2 separate regions of the Homo sapiens genome follow, and region 2 is linked to region 1. The links are contacts of gene promoters, found by promoter capture Hi-C in human tissues and cell types (Jung and others, 2019). All regions are on one chromosome and are shown on one strand. Each heading gives the region's core, a stretch centred on a gene start or on the middle of the fragment in contact. The rest is flanking DNA. Distances are from core to core; before and after follow the strand shown.

The links. The method cuts DNA at HindIII sites, captures the fragments that hold promoters and counts their contacts. A contact is called where the count stands out against the background at its distance.
Region 2: a fragment that was not itself captured here is called in contact with the fragment with the promoter of TMEM184C in region 1 in 1 of the 25 tissues and cell types used here (heart right ventricle).

What each region holds. Positions count from the first base shown.
Region 1 is chr4:147,613,989-147,620,712 of GRCh38, reverse strand. TMEM184C (transmembrane protein 184C) reads right to left here and starts at 3,316. Exons shown (of 10, transcript NM_018241.3): 1 at 2,634-3,316. The coding sequence starts at 2,756. It overlaps TMEM184C-DT (TMEM184C divergent transcript), which reads left to right and starts at 3,468. Exons shown (of 2, transcript NR_186679.1): 1 at 3,468-3,625. RefSeq lists enhancers at 2,897-2,946, 2,977-3,096. The HindIII fragment of the contact is 7,307 bases long and covers 1-4,069 here.
Region 2 is chr4:148,639,056-148,645,334 of GRCh38, reverse strand. All of the region lies in intron 2 of LOC107986195 (a long non-coding RNA gene), which reads right to left. The region is part of intron 1 of LOC105377483 (a long non-coding RNA gene); the gene reads left to right. Among named protein-coding and RNA genes, the nearest start is that of NR3C2, 200 kb to the right of the region's middle. The HindIII fragment of the contact is 6,484 bases long and covers 1-4,748 here.

The DNA.
Region 1 (6,724 bases), core at 2,067-4,566:
TTGATTTGTTCCTTTCTCTCACTGCTTCTCCTCTGGAATCCAATCTTCCTGCTACGTCTTGTTTGCTCACTTCTAAGGATACTTACAATTCAGTTTTCCATTTCCACTCCTGCTATCCTTACCGGGGCCATAAACCATCATAGCCCAGGCACCCAACACCTCTCACTACCATAAAGAGCTTTCTAACTTCCCTTCACTTCTGCTTTATTTTCCATAGCTGGTAGAGTGGTCTTTTGAAGTTATGCAATTAGACTGCCCTGCATGGTAACTTCTCAGATCTTTTCTGGTTTCCTCCACAGCATTTTATACAATTTTATTGATTTGTTTTTGTTGGTCCCTTTTGTCTCCACCAAGTTCTATGGAGGTAATGTTCTCTCATATAGTATACAAAGCCTGATTCATCACTGGGACTCAGTCATTTGGGCAGAAAGAGGGGGAAAGAAAACAAAGTAAAATATGTATCGTGGTAGATGGTGGTAAGTCCTATGGAAAAAGTAAAGCAGAGAAAGGAATATGAAGAGTTGGGGTGGGGGGAAGTTGACAATGTTAAATAGAGTAGTCAGGTGACATTTGAGTAAAGACCTGAAGAACATAAAGGAATGAGAATAATATCTACGGAAAGGAAATTCTGTGAAGGGGAAACATCGTGCAAAGTTTCAAGGAGGGAGCATGCCTGGGATTTTTGAGCAAAGCCGTGCAGTGGAAGCCTAGGACTTGAGGAGAAAAAGTCAGAGGGGGATCAGGTGGGAGTGGTGTCAGATCATGTTGGACCTTGATGGCCACAGTGAGGAATACTGGCCTTTACTCTAGGACTAGAAGTGATTTAAGATGACACACATAATGTGCCAAGTTTTAACTGGTTACTCTGGCTGGTGTGTTGAGAAGAGTCCAAGCAAGACATGTTGGGAACTTGGCTAGGACAAGTACAGACTACAGATTCCAATTTTTCTTAAAAGCTAGTGGTACCTAAAAACTACATTTGAAACTAACAACTAAGAGAAGTCTTAAACTGGACTGATATTATGCATATTATTAACCTTTAAAGTGGTTCCTATACTATACTCCACGGAAATATTTCAAAGTAAGAAAATCCCATTTGTATTAAGATGCTTATACCTAAGTTTTTGTAGACAAATTGTGGAAAGAACCTAAATATCTAACAAATGGGAAATATTGAATGTAGCAGAATATTACATGGCCATTAAAAATAACTATATGGGCCGGGTGCGGTGGCTCATGCTTGTAATCCCAGCACTTTGGGAAGCCGAGGTGGGTGGATCACAAGGTCAGGAGTTGAGACCAGCCTGGCCAACACCGTGAAACCCCGTCTGTACTAAAAATACAAAAATTAGTTGGGTGTGGTGGTGGGCACCTGTAATCCCAGCTACTTGGGAGGCTGAGGCAGGAGAATCGCTTGAACCTGGGAGGCAGAGGTTGCAGTGAGCCAAGATCGCGCCACTGCACTCCAGCCAGGGCGACAGAGCTAGACTCTTTCTCAAAAATAAATAAATAAAAATAAACAACAACAACAACAAGTAAGTATATGGGGCTGGGTGCGGTGGCTCACACCTGTAATCCCAGCACTCTGGGAGGCCGAGGACAGATCACCTGAGGTCAGGAGTTTGAGACCAGCCCGACCAACATGGAGAAACCCCGTCGCTACTAAAAATACAAAATTAGCCGGGCGTGATGGCGCATGCCTGTAATCTCAGCTACTCGGGAGGCTGAGGCAGGAGAATCGCTTGAACCCAGGAGGCGGAGGTTGCGGTGAGCCGAGATCTCGCCATTGCACTCCAGCCTGGGCAACAGGAGCAAAACTCCGTCTCATAAACAAACAAACAAAAAACTATATGGACTATGCTAGTATGGGAAAGTCATCAGAAAATAATTTAGTGTAAATAGAGAACACAAATGTATATTAAATACAGTTTATGTAAAAATCATTTCCACAATAAAGAAGGGCCTAAAATAGTCATGGTCTTATTATAGTTCTTGTAATAGGTGTTCCTCTGTAAAAGTACTTGGTGGGTTTTATTAACTCCGAATTTAAAGTTCATTATATAATATTTATATCTGAGTTATTTACCTTGGGGTTTTCCAGCTTGTAGTACATTACTGATGTCACAATAAGCATATGACATCAAAAAATATATATAAGGGACTTTTTGCAAAACCTTTGTTGGGTAAGAGCTAATTTCCACAGTAAAAACAGACACCAAAGTTAAAACAACTAGAACGCTTTGATTCAAGAAGCTAGTTAAAAGCTAATAAAATTCAATACATGGTTTTCAAGGTAGTTTATTTGACCTAGTTTCGTCCAATGTCTGAACAGATCAGATTTCAGCAATAAAATTACCTTACTTTCAGGGAACTGATGAATACTTGCAAAACAGTGCCCTTCTAAGCAGCTATATTAATATATTCTATTTTCTCGACCCGGTCCCACCTCCACCTGTAGCATGACTTGAAGAACCGTGAACAAGAAATTAGACAGGTTTATATCCTAAGAGTAGGCTCGTTTACATTAGATGGTTTTCAGGACTGTCAGGGCAGAAATGGGGTAAGGGTGTCTCTTTCCCAACCATAGATGGGTAGAAGAAAGTGTACAGGCTGATGGTGCAGAACCCTCTTACCTCCAGTTTCTGTAATTCCCACACGCATAGGGGAACCGCAACCACTATTGACACCAGGTAGATGACCGCTACTAAAGGTCGAATCCACTGTCTCCAGTTCCTCCAGGTACAAGTGCAAGGCATGTTTTCGCACAAATCAGATCCGGTTAGCAAGGGAAAAGATCTCGAAAAGATTGTAATGGGGAGCCCTGTTCTCTGGCTGTTTTGTCAACTCGCATACTACGGAGAAAAAGCTGTCGGGCGACTTTACGAACAGCTCGAGCCGCCTCCTGGACCGGCGCTGTGTCTTCTGCTGCTGCTGCTTCTGCAAATGTAGCCTCTCAGGGTGCTATTGGCGAGCAGTGCAGGCAACATCCTTTCTTCTCCACCCCGCATCTACCCGGTTGTACTGCGGTGGAATCCCAGGCAGAGCCGCTGCCCTCACCTGGGGATCGCCCTGAGCTCTGCCTGTACCATGGCTTCCAGGAGAGCAGCACAGACCAGGAACCGGCCTCTAGGGACCCTGCACACTCCGGTTCTGTCTCGCAGCTGCCTGCCCACTCGCTCTTTTCTTTGGGGATCGAGCTTCCTACCTCCCGCACTGGCAGGCGTCTCTTCAGTCGATTCCGCTAGTAGGTAAGGCCCCAGGATCTCCTCATTCTTTCGCACGGGACCTCCCCTACAGCGGAACCCAAGGCCAAACCAAGACTTTCAGCTCTTTTCCGCTTCCGCCCCTGCTGTCTGAGGCAGGTGATTCGTCGTCAGCGCCAAACTGGGCCCGCCCCATCCGACTCACTTTGCGCCCTCTGATTGGTCAGCTGTGGGGGCGGGGCTGCAGGATTGCGTACTGGGGTTAGAAAGAAGAGCAGGTGCGTGGAAGTGGGTGGAATTGCCGCAGATGGTCCAGCGGGCTATTGCAAGGATTCTGGAAGCTGCGGGAATTATTTGAGGACACTTGAAGCACACCTACTACATTCTTCTGCTGGCGTTATTCCAGTTTAAAGAAAGCTTGGGTAAGGGGCGGTTACTTCAGAGTTGGACTGGAAGAGAGAAGGCCCATCTCTACACAAAACATCCCCTATTCAATCTAGAGTGGATACAGAAGCCCGCTGGAGTAAGAAGACAAGGAAGAATGGGAAACCTCCACCTAGTTTTCTGTCAGTTGCTAGAATCTAGGGGCTAGGCCGCTTGGTTATTTCTGGATCCTACAGAAGGATCATTCTAAAGGTAGCTTCATTTTAGAATTAACCGCAAATAGGGAATGTCCCTTCTACATTTGGAACTTGTGTTAAAAATTTGCACTCATTTAAGTTTTAAAAAGTTGACATTCCATCTGACAAAGGAGTTTCATATGCTTAAAGCCTTTAGCTAAACCAATAGAGTAAACAAATATCTACTACTCAATTACATATACAAATGCGTTTTATATTGTAATTGTAATTTTCAGGGGGACAGGCACTGTACTAAGTTCATTACCTACATTATGTAAGTTGTTCTGCACAAAAATTTTGAGAGGTAGGCATTTTTCCACTTTACAGATAAAAAAGTCAAGTGGCTGATAAATTTGCCCAGGCTCACTGAGCTAGTTAAGTGGTAGTGTGGAGATAGCAACCTTGGTCTTTGTGACTCCAAAGGGCATTATATTTAAGCATTTGACCTGCTAGTACCTGCCACCTGGGGAATTTCCGCCTAATGACCATACGGATAAGGAGGCTTGTAACATTGAGTACACCTAGCCCAGGAGTCTCACAGAGACACCTAAGGAATATTATGAGCCCCTTTTTTGGTATCGTCTGTTTGGACTTGACTTCACTGCCTACTTCTCAGTTGTTAACATTTGTATTTTACAACCTGACCCAAACTACTTTCTACCGGAAAAATAGGCCTTATGTTTGTTCTTCCTAAGCTTACTTTAAAAATGGAAATTAAGGCTGGGTGCAGGGGCTCATGCCTGTAATCCCAGCAGTTTGGGAGGCGGAGGTGGGCGGATCATGAGGTCAGGAAATCGAGACTATCCTGGCTAACACAGTGAAACTCCGTCTCTACCAAAAATACAAAAAATTAGCCAGTTGTGGTGGCGGGAGCCTGTAGTCCCAGGTACTCAGGAGGCTGAGGCAGGAGAATGGCGTGAACCCGGGAGGCGGAGCTTGCAGTGAGCCGAGATCAAGCCACTGCACTCCAGCCTGGGCGACAGAGCGAGACTCTGTCTCAAAAAATAAATAAATAAATAAATAAATAAAATTAATTAAAAAAAATTCCTGATCATTAAATTAATGCTTGCTCTGTTGTTAAAGTTCATAAAAAAGAAGAATAATGAAGAGAAAGTTAATTTTACTCTACGGCCAAGTATAACTACTCTTTACTTGTTTGGTACACAGTAGAGGCTATCTTGGATATGCCGTATGCGTAGATTGTCTCTGTGCTTTCAGCTACAGCGTTTTTGCTGCCTATAATCTTTCCCATTCTTTCTCATGGGCAAACTTTTTTTGCCTAATTTGTGAGACCTTCCTTTATTTTTGTTTCCCCATGTATTCTTACAGCATTTATATGGTATTATACTCATTTACTTATTTGTCTTGTTTAGATTTTGAATTCCTAAAGCAAAAATCTAAATCCATTAGAAAAAAGCAAAAGAGAGAAGAGATGAGACAGATGCACAAATGATTTCACATACCAGTTTGCGAACTGGAATTCTTCTATGGTGAAATTTCTTCAGCTCAGCAGAGAAATTAAAAACAAAATTACAGATTGAGTATGCCAAATCTGAAAATCTGAAATTCAGAATGCTCCCAAATCCAAAACTTTTTGAGTACTTATATGATGCTCAAAGGAAATGCTCCTTGAAACACTTCAGATTTTGGATTTTCAGATTTGAGATGCTCAACTGGTATGTATAATGCAAATGTTCCCCAATCTGAAAAAATCTGAAATCCAGAACACTTCTGGTCCAAAGCATTTCAGATGAGATATATGAATTTTTCATTTAGTTAAATTTCTTCACTCTTAAGGACCATGTTTTATTTTGAAATTGTCTATCCTATTTTTTAATATGATAATAGATAGTAGTTGTTCTTCAGATATTTTTACTTTGGAGAATAAAAAGTTGATAGCTTTATTTGCCTACCATTTGTTTCATTTTTTTCTCTTGACCTGTAAGATCCTAAAGTCTAGTAAGGATAGGGAATAGGCCATAATGCTGATGTGATCCTAATCTACTTGCTTTGCTTGCTATAGGCATTCTCTGCATTCTTTCTGGATATGAGAGCCTAAGCCTGAAGGTGGATCTGAGCTTGATGGTGTTTGAAAAATAAGAAATGGTTAAAATTGGCAGATGGTGCTAGGGTCAAAAACAAGCTATTAGTCAATTTTGATGCAAGTTATAGAGGTTAATTGAAGTTTGTTACTGCTGCATCACATGCAAATAGGTGGAATTTGCTATTATTGAAGGATAAGTTTGGATTAATCTGAATTAAGATAATAGATTAAATGCACTTTGAGGGATCCTGGGGGATGGACACTGTTAACCCTTTGCCATGTATCTCCATTTCTCTATAAATATGTCCATGGTAGTTTTAAAACCTGGCTGCAACTTCTTTGATACTCATCTGATAACAAAATAGAGTCTGTGTTCCCTCTCTTTACATGTATGTGGGCTTGTGATTGATTTTAACCAATAGAAGTTGGTGAAAATGGTCACAGTCACCATATGTGACTTCTGAGGCTAGGTCATAAAAGACCATGCAGTACCACCTTGTCTGCTGGAACATTTACCTTTTGGAACTCCCAGCCTTCCTGTGAGAAGTTCCACTGCCTGAGGCTGGCATTTTGTGAGAAAGCCCAAGACAGACAGAGAGACCCTTTGAAGGTAATACTGATCAACAGTCACAGCTGAGCCCAGGCTTTGAGTCAGCCCAGCCTAGGTGCCAGTCACGTGAGCTGAGAAGCTGATTCCAGCTCCTAGCCATTCTCGCCGCTCAGCCATTTGGGTCATCCCAGCCGAGGCCCTCATCATGGCCAGAGACATACAATGCCTGCTCTGCCTTGTCCTAAGTCCTGACCTGAAGAATTCATGAGGGTAATGATTGTCGTTTTACTTCAGTGAGTTTAGGGTT
Region 2 (6,279 bases), core at 257-2,756, 1.0 Mb before region 1:
GATAAAAAGTGTCTGCCAGCCGGGCATGGTGGCTCATGCCTATAATCCCAGCACTATGGGAGGCCGAGGAGGGTGGATCACCTGAAGTCAGGAGTTCGAGACCAGCCTGGCCAACATGGTGAAACCCCATCTCTACTAAAAATACAAAACTTAGCCAGGGATGGTGGCACACACCTGTAATCCCAGCTACCCGGGAGGCTGAGGTGGGAGGATCACTTGAACCTGGGAGATGGAGGTTGCAGTGAGCCAAGATCGCACCACTGCACTCCAGGGTGGGCGACAGAGCGAGACTCCATCTCAAAAAAAAAAAAAAAGTGTCTGCTATCAGAGAGCTTACATGCTAGTTTTATGATAAATGAAGATTCATCTGCAAAAAAATTAATTTCCAAAAAGGCTTTTTATAAGGTGTCAATCCTGAACTTCAGTATTTATAAATATGTAAGATTTAGGATGCCATCCAGATAGCTTCAATATTATGTAAATTTAAAGAGAATATATGACATAGGCCAGGCACAGTGGCTCATGCCTGTAATCCCAGCACTTTGAGAGGCCGAGGCAGGAGGATCACTTGAGGCCAGGAGTTAGAGAACATCCTGGGCAACAAAGTGAGACCCCATCTCAACAAATAATCAAAAACATAGCCAGGCATGTTGGTGCATGCCTGTAGTCCTAGCTACATGGGAGGCTGAGGCAGAAAGATTGCTTGAGCCCAGAAGGCTGAGGCTGTAGTAAGCCATGTTCACACTACTGCACTCCAGCCTGGGCCACAGAGGCCCTGTCTCAAAAATAAATAAATAAATAAATAAATAAATAAATAAATAAATAAATACATAAATACATAAATAAATAATATGGATTCACAGACTGATGAATAAATTGTCCTCTTAAAGATATATCAGATAAATTTGACTTGTGCTGTTTTTATTTTGCCTTACATTTTTGGGCTTGTATGTGTTTAAACTACTTAAAGCTATTATTTAGAGCACAAAGATAAAAGACAAAGTGAATACAAGAAATGTAAGCTATATACCATGAAAAGCAACAGGATTTTGTCCTGCTGTTCTATTAATTCACACCTATTTGACTGAAAAGCTGAAACTCGTCTTTGAATGTGTTTTACATAATATATAAGAAATTTCTACCTCATCACAGAGGTTCCAAATATTGTCAACTGAACATATATCTGGATACTTCTGTAAGTCTGTTGGAAGTTCTTAATTCAGGAAATAAAAACATGACACATAAGTGTCTACTGAGGGCTAGAGGAAATTACCCAATTAAAAGAAAGAATACAATACTCTGGAGAAAAGGAAGTGCCAAGATGTCAAAATCTCTCTCAAGTAGAATCTTATGGATACAGCTCAGCTTTGCTAAATAGAATGACAGAGGATTTGGGTATGATTTCAACTTTTAATAGATGTTTTCCTCTAAAAGGGATAACTCGAGTCTATGAAAAAAAGATAGTAGATAAAAATTTGAGTGAAATAAACTTAGTGAAATGTAATATGTAAATGGGAAAAAAATTTAATACAATTTGATTAATTTTGACTCCACTAATTCAGAATTTCAGAAAGATTCATGAGGCATACACTAAAGTTTACCTTTGTTGTAATTTGGGGGAAATGATCTTCTAGGTCAATGTTTCCCAAACTTCAATGTTCACAGGAATCACCAGAAGATCTCATTAAAATTCAGATTCTGACTCAGTAGCTCTGCAGTGGGCCCCAAGATTCAGCATTTCTGCCAACTTTAATTGAGATACTTCTGCTACTGGTCTAAAACATGCTTTGAGTATCAAGAATTCAAGTAAATCAGCAAGGTCACTTGCAAAAGAAATGATCAACCAACAAACGCACACTTTCACAATACCCTTTGGGGAAAAATGACTACTTACGAACGACTCTATGTTGTTCATTGAAACAGTTGTGGTAGGAGTTCTACTTGGCAAGATGGTGTAAACAGCTAATTGGAGTTAATTCACATTGTTAAAAATGCAAACAAAGGTTTTCTTTAAAAAATACTCTACTGTGCCAATTTTTCATTCTAGTTTCTCTTCATTTATATAACCTTCATTTTAATTAACAAACATGGAATTTGGACATCTGAAATCAAAAGAGAGTGATACGATTATCCATCTTTAATTCTTCTTGAGTCATTTTCCTATCATGTTTGAGATCTCCCCACTTACTTACTTATTCATTTACTAAGAAAAACAGGAAAATGCTGATGAGAGCAAATTTGAGAGAGATAAATTAAATAGAGATCATAAGATGTCCCTTCCTCCCTCATTCCACCCCACACCTGGTGAGATATACAGTTAAGTTTTTTAAAGCTAAATGTTATTATATAGCCCAAACTGTAAATAATAATGCATTAAGAGCTTCAATGTGGTATTTTTTATGGGTCACTACCGTGGCTGGCAATTAGCTGAGGCTATCCAAAAGACTTTGATGTACCTTGGTCCTATTTGCAGGACATGCTAAAGAAACATAGATCCTGCAGTATATCTGTCGATATTCACCAATGATTTGGTTTCTGGTGTCAAATGAAGAGTCCCTCCACTAGAGGAAAATAGCAGCAGAGGACAGAGGTGAAGGTACAACATCAGGAGTACACAGCAAGACATCTGGAGTGCAGTAAGAGAGAGTCCAGGGGAACAGCAAGAGACAGGAAGATGAGGGAAAAAGAGAGAAGTACAAAGATGCATCATTTAAGAAACAGAAAAGGAAAGCAGAGAAAAAAAGATTTTGAGAAAAACCAAAGTTTGACAAAAAGCAAAACTTTGAGAAAAGCCAAAGTTTTAGCCATACAAACTGCCTTGTGTCTGGAAAAGGAGGTACCCCAAGCTGCACAGAACACATGTAACACCAGTACCATCCAAGATGGCAGAGAGATTCCCACGTACCAGCATATTATCTGGGTGGAAAGCACTTTCCTGCTTCAAAGATGCATGGATTATTTAGTTTCCTGCCATGAAACAATCCAATAATAATTGACTACTCTGTGTCTGAGTCTGTGTTCACTAAGCAAATTTTCTTTTCTCTGGAGGAAAAAAAAAGTCTAACAAAATAAACCCTGCAGTAAACTTGACATTTGTATTTCTCATTATAATTTAATAAATTGGCACAGATGGAAAAAGAAAGATGCAAGGAGGGGTGGAGGAGGAAGAGAAAGAGCCCAGAGATAAACCATGGCTTCAGCTATCCCTCTTAGGAGTAAATTGGGTATAGAAACCAGGATTTGCCAAGTAAAGTGTAGCCTTGGTAGATCAAACTTCACAAAGTGGGAGCTAAATTAAATACCAGATGAACATAATCAGACCAGAAATCAAAAGAAAACTATTGGGCATAAGAGTTAGAAAAATTTGAGTAGGAGCCAAAATAGAAAAAAAAATACATAGAGGAATCAAAATTGAAAAAGCAAAGAGAACTGAGGTTCAAGAAAAGAAAGTATGATGTAAAATAAGCTGTAAATGTGGACGTACTTCACTCATAACATTCTTTTTATGGGAATTCCAGTGTGATTCCAAGAGTTCAGAATGGATCTAAAAGAAAACTCTGAGACCTAATATCTTAAAGTTCTTTTATTTCCAGCCTAGAGACTACCAAAACTTCACAGGACATCTAAAGCCACTTCCAGCTGGCAGAGGTGGCCATTTTTTCCCATGCATGCAGGAACAGAGTGGTGAGTCTCCAGCCTTGCACAGTTCTCCATCCCATTGCTCCAATCCAAGACCTAGCTCTGCTGGAAAGATCAGGGACCATATAAAAGTAGAACAGACAGAAGACATAATAGCTCCCTTAAGATACCTTAACAAGCCATATGTTCTGACCCTGAGACCATTATTACGTTTGGATGAGTGGTCCCAGTCTCAAATAAAAAGGAAAGAAAGCATTTGGGGCTACTGAGGAATTTCCTTGAGTATGTATCTTCTATAAATTGGATCTTCCAAGAACCATGCTGGGGATGAAGAGCAATGGTGCTGCTGTCAGTCTTTGCTTAAGCTGAGTAAGTCAGTACTTCTGATGATTCTTATGTTTACTAAGGAGTCTTCTAGACTGATATTCCTTCAAGATAGAAGAAAAAAATAATCACCAGGATTACTTTAGCCCTTAGCAAGTCAGAGCTGGTGGGTGATCCTGTAAGTTACTTGATGTCTTTTCTCAGCATTTTTTACTAGTTGACAAGAATCTACACCTGAAGACATCAATTTCTACTCACCCTTCACTCTCTCATTAAGGATGCAATACTCTGCTTTGACTGATCTTTATACCTCTTTTAGTGACTAATGATCTGTTGGTGAATTGAAAATATAGGCCCTGTCCAGCCCTGAAAAAGACATTCCCTGGAAATGCACTAAAATAAAATACTCATATGAGCACAATGATCTTATAAATCTCAGTATGTATGTCTTTAATACTCACCAAGATATTTTGTAATAAAAGCAACACTCAATCTTTTCCAACAAGCACTAATGGTAAAGTTAACAATAAGAACCACAGAGGTCTCAAGAGGAAAGTTGCAAAAAGAAATGAGAACTCTGCTCCCAGGGCTTTCCCTAAGCAAAAGCGTGAAGACAGGGAAGTTTTTCTTTGGGCCCTACCAAGAACCTCACTGTTTCTAGGTCCTTCTTTCAGCCTTGCCCTGTGAGTTCCACATCCCCACTGCCACCCATGCTCCATGCTTCTACCTGCATCTTGGTGGCCCATAGCACACTTGCACTCTTAGAGAAGTTCCATTTAAGTGGAGCTTCCTTGGGCAGTGTCCTACCTAAGGGTAGGACATGGGGAAAAGCAAGGTGAAAATCAACATGCCTGTCCAGAAACAAAATTCTGACGATCCAAATTATTAAGCCCTCAATAAAACTAGTGTGTGTTGTCAGAAGTCAAAATAGTGTTTACCTTTAGGTAGGTGGTTAGTGATTGGAAGTGAGCATGGTGGGCTTCGGGGTATTGGTAGTTTTCTATTGTTGACCACTGCTGGTTCCAAGGGTATGTTCACTTCATGAAAATTCATTATAGTAAGTGAGCTATACACTTAATTGTGCCTTTTATTGTATGTATAATACAGCAAGAGAATGTTAAAATAGAATATAATGGCCTTAGGAATAATACAATGCAAGAGATCGAAGAAGGTCAGAATAATTCAAAACATAATCAACATTACCTAGACATTTTAAGAAAAAGCAGAATGACATCTGATGACACTATTCCTTGCAAATATTTTTCCCAGTCCATCCTTGCTGGGAAGTATAGTTTTTAAAAGGTTTTCACCAGCCTCAAGCTGGCTTTCAATGTCTTGATTTTGTGGGATGTCTAAAGAAAAGGAGTTAGAGAATGTCTCTAGCATTGTCCTGTGAAGAGGGCAAGCATTGCTCAATTGGATCATTTGAGCCAGAGGCCACTGGTTGATTGGATTATCCATCCAATTCCCCTGGTTCAGAGTCTCATACTTAGCAAGCCATCCATAAAGAGAGAACCAAAATTACATTTATTATTCTAAATTAATAATGTCCTAATTTTACATAAATCTCTGTGGAGTACCAATCTTTTATCAATAGGAGGATCCTTTATAATCTAAAAAAAAAACTTATCAAATTATCACATAACAGTAACCGTAATTTTTTGTTTAGCAACTGTGTTTGCAGTAACAATGTCCACAGTAGGCTGGGACACAAATTAATCTCCCTAAAAAAAGCAACTGGTGCAAAGCACTGGAATAGGCTCTCTCACTGGCATGTGAATAGGTTGTGTATTCCCTGGGCTGATGCAGTCAGACTGTGGGCAATTGCCTGTTTTATCCATGAATAAGACTGTGTGTGACTTCTACTGTGTGTCAGCCATAACAAACCAAATTACATTGAGGCAATGGAAAAAATGTTTTGATGTTTCTATCAGCCTGATTATATTGTGTATTCTCAGAGAAGTCTTAAAAGAGATTTGTTACAATCAGATCTCATGAACAATTGCTACTCTGACAGTAGTACACTTGGGGGAAAAGAAAAGATCAATAATTTGATCAGGTGTTTTGTATTAGTCTTACATTCATAGCATTGAATTACATCATAATACCTGTTGATTTAATGGGTTTTGATAATACCAAGAAAGAATCTCATATCACTAAAGTAGAGAAGTAAAGGGACAAAGATTGAAAGGCAATTTTAAATATCTGTAAAAACATAAGGTTTCCAAATTTGCCATTAGTCTGTTTGTATGTTTTCCATAATTAAAATCTATTTTTTTCTGCCAACTAAAAGTTGTTTGTATTCATTTTACTTAA